2 separate regions of the Homo sapiens genome follow, and region 2 is linked to region 1. The links are contacts of gene promoters, found by promoter capture Hi-C in blood cells and fetal thymus (Javierre and others, 2016). All regions are on one chromosome and are shown on one strand. The core of a region is centred on a gene start or on the middle of the fragment in contact, and the rest is flanking DNA. Distances in the headings are between cores, read along the strand shown. Region 1 holds the start of ELF4 (E74 like ETS transcription factor 4). Region 2 overlaps ENOX2 (ecto-NOX disulfide-thiol exchanger 2).

Evidence for each region. Contacts are between HindIII fragments. The CHiCAGO score rates a contact against its expected background, and 5 or more counts as called.
Region 2: a contact is called between a fragment that was not itself captured here and the fragment with the promoter of ELF4 in region 1, in 3 of 17 cell types (naive CD8 T cells, naive B cells and monocytes). The highest score is 5.9, in naive CD8 T cells.

What each region holds. Positions count from the first base shown.
Region 1 is chrX:130,108,625-130,113,088 of GRCh38, reverse strand. ELF4 (E74 like ETS transcription factor 4) reads left to right here and starts at 2,592. Exons shown (of 9, transcript NM_001421.4): 1 at 2,592-2,764. It also overlaps a transcript of RAB33A not described here. RefSeq lists silencers at 1,861-1,980, 2,051-2,100, 2,111-2,160, 2,411-2,560, 2,641-2,710. The HindIII fragment of the contact is 7,600 bases long and covers 1-4,464 here.
Region 2 is chrX:130,898,335-130,902,984 of GRCh38, reverse strand. ENOX2 (ecto-NOX disulfide-thiol exchanger 2) reads left to right here. Exons shown (of 15, transcript NM_006375.4): 2 at 1,254-1,301. Among named protein-coding and RNA genes, the nearest start is that of ENOX2, 2.5 kb to the left of the region's middle. RefSeq lists enhancers at 1-30, 1-410. The HindIII fragment of the contact is 3,898 bases long and covers 1,340-4,650 here.

The sequences.
Region 1 (4,464 bases), core at 1,343-3,842:
AAAAAAAAAAAGAAGGAAAAAAAAAAAAGAAAAAGAAAACACACAAAGAAAGGAGAAATGCTTGAGGTGACAGATACCCCATTTACCCTGATGTGATTATTACACATTGCATGCCTGTATCAAAACATCTCATGTAACCCATAAATACACACACCTACAATGTACCCATAAAAATAAAAAACAAAAATAAAAAAATTAATTTATTTAATTTATTTATTTTTTTGAGATGGAGTCTCACTGTGTCATCCAGGCTGGAGTGCAGTGGCACGATCTCGGCTCACTGCAACCTCTGCCTCCCAGGTTCAAGTGACTCTCCTGCCTCAGCCTCCCGAGTAGCTGGAACTACAGGCATGCACCACCACACCGGCTAATTTTTGTATTTTTAGTAGAGATGGGGTTTCACCATGTTGGCCAGGCTGGTCTTGAACTCCTGACCTCAAGTGATCCACCCCGCTCGGCATCCCAAAGTGCTGGGATTACAGGCATGAGTCACCACACCCAGCCTAGTTTTTGTTTTTGTTCTGTTTTAAAGAAGAAAAGTGAGGCTCAGAGAGTTTAAGTGACTTGCCTGAAGTCACACAGCTGGTAAATAGTGAGCTGGAATAGGAACCCAGGTCTGTCTGAGGTTACAGACCACTGAGCTCTTAGCAAAATGGGAAAGTGTGTGTGTGTGCACGCGTGTGCAGACGTGTCTGTCCATTCGTGAATTTCAAAGTCAAGGTAAAGAGGGCTTAGGGACATCCGGAACCTACCCCAAATTTGAGAGGGGACCTCGTGGATGAGAGGCCAGCAGAGAACTGTGTGTCTCCAGGATCTGGAATCCCCTGGGAAAAGCATGCCCGCTTGGAAAAGACAAAGTGCTTGTTTTGGGGACTTGATTCTGAGTATCCAGGAGGTCTCAGGGGCCGGCGCCCCAGTCCAGCCACAGGATCTTTCCTTGGGAACTTGTAATCTGCAGCTGCCTTTGTGGCCATCATCCACCACCACTCCTGTCCCCCAGTCCTGCGCCTGAGATGATCCTTTCCCAAGGCAGGAGAAGCAGGCCGATGCTGGAGGCTGAGTAGGTCCTTCAACCTCAAGCCCTTTAGAAGGCCCCATCCCCTGGGGCTCCTTCAGTCTTGATGCTTTCTGCCAAGGCTTAGGCCTTGCTGCCCCCACCCCCAAAAAGGCCACGTGGAACTATACAGAGTAACAATTCCCAGCGCACTCTCTCCAGAGCCTCCTATCAGCAGACCCACGTAGGCGGCGGTATTGATGTTGAGGCAGGTCAGAGAGGGCAAAGGGGAGATAGAAGGGGAGCGTGCCTGAGTGGCTTTCAAGTGGGCGCGTGGAGCAGAGCAGCCTGGCTTTGGACAGGGGAAGAAAGGTAGGCATGGGCTTTCTTCCAGCACCCGAACTCTGGCTCTCTTTGCACTTGCTGGGCCAGCCCCTCTCCCCCTAGCCCTTCCCCTGACTCATATCTTGCCAGCGTCCCCCACCCCAACTTCCCGCAGGAGTCCTAGACTCGACTTCCCTAAGAAGTCGCCGAAACTCTCCAGTCACCCCAGGTGTTACGCCCAGGATTCTGCGGAGTCGGGCATATGGTTCCAAAATTGTATCCTCTGGGCATCTCGCGGCCTCACCCGCCGCACGGCCCGCCCTCCCGCTGGGGCCTGCACACCCCAGGAGCTCAATAATGTGGAGCGCAGGGCTTGGCCCAAAGGCGTCAAGCAAGTCTCCACTTGCACGGGCCGAGGGGGCTGGACGAAACCTTCCCGAGTCCGCGGGGAAGGGATTTCTCTGCGGGGCGTTGTATGGGGGCTTCGCACCGGGAAGGGCGCGGAACGAGCAGAGAGCTCGGAGTCTCGCTGGCTAGAAGCAGAGTGGGGAGCGCCCGCCCGGGCCGCGGCGCACGACGCGGGCTCTGCGGGCGCCCTGCCTCGTGGTCCCCCGGGCGCGAGCGAGCCGCGAGGGGAATGAGAGGCCGCGCGGGCCCCTGGCACGGCTCCCCATGCCGTGCTGGCGACCGCGGCGGGCGGGCCGGGGCGGACGGGCGCTGTTTCCACCGAGATGCCTCGTCCCTCCCTCGTTCCCTCCCCCACCCCGCCCGCCCGCAGTCCCTCCCGTCGGTCCCTCCCTCCGGCTCTTCCCTCCCTCCCGCCCTGCCTCCTTCGCGCCCGCCCCATCCGCCGCCTGCGGGGACGTGTGTGTCTCTACTGCATTTCCCCTTTCGCTCGCTCGTTTCGGTGCATGTCTGCGCCGGTTCGCGCCCCCTCCCCGGGCGCCCCTGCCGCCCCGTGTCTTGGCCCGGCCCTCCCCGGCGTCCGCCCCGCTCCCCGCGCGCTCCACCCCGCCCCCCGCCCCGTTTTATCAGGGGCGCCGCCGTCTCACCTGGTATTTGCATCTCTCCCTCCAACTTGCCATTGGCGGCGCGAAGTGTGGGAGAGCCCTGCGCCTCGCCCGCCCGGACCAGCCTGCCCCGGCGCCGAGGTGAGTCACGGGCGCGGGGTGGCGGGGGCAGGCGGGCGGGGAAGAAGGGCGGGCGGGGAGGAGGGCGGGGGACGGCGGCCCCGGCGGCCGCGGGGACCGACCGGGCGCCGCGCTCAACTTCCACTTCTCCTTTCGCCGGCGCCGAGTTCCTGGCGCCGCTCGCCCGGCCCGGCTTCCGAGGGGAGAGGACGGGCTGGCGGGGCTGGGGACCCGCGTCTCGGCCCCCGGAGCGGGGACCACGGAGACAGACCCCGGCCCGGCGACCGAGCTGGGCCCGTGAGCCACTCGGCCTCAGGTACGTCGATGGCGCCGGTTCTTCGAGCCTTGGGGGACGTGGAAAAGTTTGCTTGAGGGCGGAATCGAGAGCGCCGGGGCCCCGGCGTGGGGCTGGGGGCCCAGGGAAGGGCGGGAGAGTCGCGGAGTGTCGCGAGCCGCCCTGGAGTCGCCCCGCCGCGCGTGTGATGGAGAACCCGGGCTCCCGATCCCGGGATGGAAGTGGAATGGATTCCCCGAGTCGGGGAGTCGGGGTAGGGGCCCCTGTTTTCCCTCGCCCCCGGCAGCCTGGGTTCCGTGACGGGGCCGATCATGACAGCGGGCCCCCAGAAGCTGGGCGCCCGAGGGCAGAGGAGGTGGGGCGGACCGCGGCGGAGCTGCTAGATGGATCCGACTGCCCCCGGGGCTTCTGGGGCCAGGGCTTTAGGGTCACACGCACACACGCGCACGCAGACCTATGATGTGGAGAACTGGATCGCCAAAATAGAGACCTCTTGGCAGGGGCCGGAGTTTCCGTGTGAGCCAGCCGCCAGCCTTCCCGCTCCCGCGTTCCCGCTCTCCCCGACTCTCCCGCCTCCGGGTTCCCTCCTGGGCCGCCGCCTAGGGGATTCAGCAGCCGCACCGTGCGGGGTCCCCTCACGCCAGCGCCTTGCTTTGGAGGCTTGAGGGACTGCTGAGGCGGTGACCGCTTTATGAATTCCTGGCTCCTCCACCGCACCCTAACCCTGACTCCCTTTTCTCACCACCGTATGCCTGCACATCACCTTCCTGACCAGAGTCACCTCCTGACCCCTTGGCACCTCGGCTCAGCGAGGTCCTCCTGGGCCGCCCCCGCCCCGCACCATACCCCAGCTGAGGGATTTGATGGCCATTTGATTCCTGCCCCTCATCCCTCGGCCTGTGATAGAGGCCTGTCTGGTCCTGCAGCCTCTTCTGGTTAATGTTTGACAGTTCATTGTGGCTAATTATTTTAATTAGCTCTTAAAGTGGGAAAGAACAGTTAACCTTGGACTTCTCGATTTTGGCCTGGTGGGGCCTCAAATGGGAGGAGTGCTGGGGAGGTGGGGAGGTAGGAGCGGAAGTGAGGTCACCACCCCAGGGCCTGAACCACCACTGCTCAGCCCCAACAGCTGGTGGGCACGCCCATTGGGGACTCACCCCCTGCCAGCTGACCCCTGGCCCGAGTGCCAGGTTGGAGGTGGGTGAAGGGAACAGTTCTAGCTCTTCCCTTTGGGGAGACTTTGGCACTGAAAATGCCCGGGGAACACATATGCCCAGCAAGAATGCCAGTCCTTCCTTGCAGTTAGTTACACTGGGTTTTCCTGGTTATAAAGTGCTTTCTCAACCATTAATTCAGATTCAGTGCATCCAGTACAGGAGCAGCGTAGGGGGAGCTCTCTGGAGTTCAGTGAAGATTATCAGGGAGGACTTCCTATCCCAGCCAGCTGGTGTGAGGAAGAGGCTACCTTGCATCTGGTTGTTTTTGGGGCTGGATTCAGAGCCTGGGATCTCTTGTTGGGGGCAGGGGTGGGGGGGACCATGAAGCAGGCTCCATGCTACCACCCTCACCCAGCCTCTTGCTGTGAGCCGAAGGAGTGGCTTGTTTGCAACTATGTCTGGCATTCCTCCCTGTGCTGCACTGTTTGCTCGGTGGTTGCTCAGGAACTGGCGCCCACCCCTGGACAACCTAGGGGCCCAAAATTCACTCTCCCTCACCTAGTG
Region 2 (4,650 bases), core at 2,039-4,538, 790 kb before region 1:
GGAGGGTGCTTCCGGGGCCGCGGTCCTCAGCGCCTAACTCCACCCAGCTCCACCTCTGCAGGGGAGGGGGTATCGGGACTGGGAGTCGGGGGTGGGCTTTTGAGCTCTAGGCGCCAGTTCTCTTGAGCCCGGGAGCGCGCTGTCTTTGCTCTTTTTTTTTTTTTTTTTTGGTCCAACTCGCCCGCCCCTTTTTTTTTTTCCCACGACGCCGCCCCCCTCCCCCTGGCTCTGTGCCTCCTCAGAGGTCCGAAGTTGGGGTTTGCGTCCAGGGTTTTGCCTAGGCGGTGACTGGACTCTAATTCTTACCGCAGGAATTGGGTGATCTCTTTCCTCTTTTCCCTCAATTTGTATTTCAGGTTTGGGCACATAACCCTCCCTGCGCTACACTCCCCATTTTCTTTGGGGCATGGGAATTCCTTGCCACGCTCAGGGCGTGACTTTTTTTTTTCAAACTTTCTCTTTTTGCCTCCTTAATTGATCGCCATCTCTTTACTGGCCCCTCAGCCACCTGCCACTTCCCCCACCAGGTCTTTGAAGTGGGGAGAGTTTCCCCTCAATTTCTAGAAGGGATGGGAAGCAAAAGAGGGAAGGAATCTTGCTTTTGAGAAATGTGTGTTTAAGGTTCAGTGCAGGGTTCTGGTGAGAGTAAAAGGCAAGTTAGACTGGTTATAAAAATCCAGCGCTTTAGGGGTTTCCAGCAAAGACTGATAGCACTAATGTTGACAAACATTTAGGGGGCACACCTTTATTCTACAGAATAAAGTAGACCGTGTGAAACAGACCATATTAATCATTGTATTATTACAAACGTGTGCAAAAAACGCTAAGAGGGGTCAGTGGAAGAGCATACTGATGGGGGTGGTGAGTTCATCTATGGAAGTTCAAGCCTAACCCGGGAAGTGCTGAAGCCCTCATCCGGCTTTCAGGCTTTGTGAAGGAGGTGAATTTTAATCTGGGCTCCAGCAGAGTACAGGGGATTTGAAGTTGTCAAAGAGGAGGGAGAAAATGCTTCCTGCTACTGAGATTGGACTTTGAGAAGGGTAAACAGAAGAGGGAGCACTGTGAGACAGGTGGGCTTGCCTGATTGGAATAAAAGATATCAGCACAAATATACTGGGAAATAAATAGGGTGGAGAAGCTTGGGGTCATAATAACATGATACTTTGAAACATACACATAGTTTGGATATTATTCTGTATCAAATAAAATTGAAGGCAAAAATTAAGATTGGATGATTTTTCTTTTCATCCTAGGGAACCTGATTTGAGATCAATTCTTGGAGAACACAAAGAAGTGTGATGGTATGTTCCAGGTGTGAGTTTAAATCCAAGAAGAAGCTTGTCTTGCAGATGTTTTGTTTGTAGCTATTCTTAGCTACAGTCTATAGCTGTCAACTTTAAAGCCTAGAGACATCGATATATTTTCTTAAGAAATGCATTTGCTGTCCCCGTGCATCACATTATCTGAACTGTAGTCATCTCATTGGGTGACAATAATGACTGCTATTTATTGAACCCACATAATGTCCTAGTCATCATCATAAATACTTTGTTGCATTATCTTGAGTGTTATGAAGTAGGTACTATTATTCCTGTTTCTTTTTCTAGAAGAAAACACTAAAATGCACAGAAGTTAAACAATCTACTTAAAGTCACATAGATTATAAGTTGAGTTGAGGTTTGGGTGTACAGATTTCTGACTCCAAAGCCCATGCTCTGTTCAACATGGTTTGCTGCTCCCAATGTTCTTTCTTGTTCTTGACTTTCCAGTTGTGGTAAGGAGAGATAGGTATAGTTCATCATCCTGGCCAAAACCCAAATGATTCACTTAAAATTTCTATGTCAGAATGTATTTGCTGTAAAGTAGCTGCCAAAACCAAATTAACTGTCATTGCAACTGTAGCTAATTGTGTCTGCCAAAACCATAGTCAGTACGGCTATTTCTGAATTAGATGATTCTCTTTATAACACATATCATACCTCTAAGCTATTTGGACCTTGATAGCACTTTGGATGTATTTTATTTTAGCATTTTAAGAAGTTACCTGGGACACTAGATCTCTTTCATGACCTCTGCCCACGTGAAGTGTTGGAGAAACAATGAAGTACAAGGTGTGAACTCTTCCTGGGGTCTAGCTGGGGAGCTGGATGCCCACAGTTCTGAGATACTGTAGTGTGTAGTATAACAGAGACAGGTACAAAATGCTATGGAGGGATAAAGGAAGGTGTGACTCACTGTAAGGGAGACTCGGGGAGAAGGCTTCCATGAGGAGGTGACATGAGATAGGTCTTGAAGGATAGTGAGTTTGCCCCAGGCAGGGAAGGAGTGGAGGGGAGGCATTTCAGATAGAGGAGTCAGTCTGTGAAAGATGTGTGGCTGTATAAGAGTAGGGCATGTTCATTCAATGTGGAAGAATTCAGCATGGTTGGAGTGCAGATAGTTGAGTAAAAGGAAACTGTAATGGGTAGGAGAAGAGTCTGGAAAGAGGTTGGGGCTGATTTGCAAAGAACCTTGATTGCAATCCTAAGTTGGAATGTGCCCCCATAGGTCAGTGGTTCTCAAAACGTAGGGCATCTGCCAGTGGTAGTTACACTGTGCTCCCACAAACATTTTAATTTTACTAGTTACATGTTCAAATATGTCTTAAAAAACATAAAACTGAACTAAGCCATCACATCTAAGATTACTTTGGATTTTACTTCATAAAAATAGAAAGTGAACCAGTTTTCAGTTCATTTAAAGACAAATATTAAGTAGTAATAGTACACATTGTGTGTGAATATGGTAAAAATCACTAAGTAATACTCAGACTGAAATTTGGGAAGTGCTGCTTGTAGGCCATAAGAAACCATTAACATGTTTTAGAAGAGCACCACGATCAGATTTTTACTGTAAGGAAAATGACAGTGGGAAGGATACAGTGGAGGTGGATATGATGAGGCTGCTACTCTGTTCCACAGAGAGACAATAAAGACCCAAGAGTAGTGACGTGAGCGGAGCGAAGAGATTTGAGAAACATTTAGGAGGTAAAATTATTAGGACTTGGTGGATGTTAATATTATTTTGTCAGTGTTACCAGAATTGTTTTAAAAGTCTGCATGCCCCCCTTGCCTCTTGTCCTTTATATTGTATGGTGAGCAATAATATTGCCAAAACATGCTATGTTTCTATGTTCATTAAGATTACAATGGAAGCTATAGTTACCACTCGAGTGGATTTGGATTACACACAAACATCCTTCCCACCTTACTCAGTGTCCTTGAGAGCAGTAGCACAAATATTCAAGGCACTGATTAGGAATATGACCATGATCTGTGACCCTTAGGCATGCAAGAAATTCCTCAGCCTTTAAGACTCAGCTCATATGTCAACACCTCTGTGAAGCCTTCCCGACAGCCCTTGCCCAACATACATGAATGCACGCACAAGGCAATGTTAGGCCTCGGGCTTCCACAGGACCCTGCACTTAGTTACCTCCGTCCTAGCCTGTACCACACTGTAGGGTGTCGGTCTGTGGATGTCTCTGTGTTCCCCACTAGACTGTGAACTCCTTGAGGGCAGGGACCAGGTTTCATTCATCTCCATACCCATAGCATCCAGAAGAGCACTTGACACATGGTAGTCACCTAATAAATGGTTATTGGGTGAAAAGAATTGATAAACAGATTTGCATGAATATAACTGGGGACCTTGGTAGCACAGAGTGCCAAATGCTATGAAAAGACTAGCTGTTTGCTACATTTGCTACTTTTGCTGAAGAAAGGAGTAAATTAAAGTGCCCATAATTTCATGAAAGACCTACTTTTTCCCTCTTTTCTTCACTCTCCCCTGGTTATCTTACCTTTTTCTTTCCTATCATTTACCTATCCAGGCACCTATTCCTTAGCCCTGCCCATTACTTTGCTGCTCTTGACAGAGTTCATCTTCCTCCTGCCCTGATACTTTGCCAGGAAACATCCTTCCTTCTACCCACCCAAGTCCAGTACACTCCGTCCTTGACATCACTCTCAAGTTCATCTCCTACTCATAGACTCTGCTGCTGGGACTATAATTTGATACAGCTCTTCTGGAGAGCAATTCGTCAATATGTATCAGAAACCTTAATAGAATACAGCTTTTAACCTACCACTTCAACTTCTAGAGCTCTATGCTGAGGAAACAATCATGATGTTTCCAAAAATTTAATACTCAGGACATCTATCCCAGAGTTGTTTATACTAATAGCAAAAACAACAAAAAAAAAAAAAAGAAAAAAAAGAACATCTTAAATGTACAATACTAGGGATTTGAATGAAATCAATTGTGGTACATTTATAGAATGGATTACTAAGTAGCCTTGTAAGTTGATTTTACCAAACAATATTTAATGATGTGGAAAATTGTTTTTGATATATTAAGAGAAAATTCACATCATAGAACTCTCAGTACAGAGTGACAGATCCCAGTTTAAAAACATATACATAATACACACACACACACGCACACACACACGCACACGCACACACACATCTGTGTAGGCATACATAGGAAAAATCCTGTAATGGTAAACACACAAAAAAATATTAATAGGGGTTTGCTGCAAGTAGTAAGATTGCATATGACTTCTACTTTTAACCTTTTGCGTATTTTTATTTTCTAATCTACAGTATA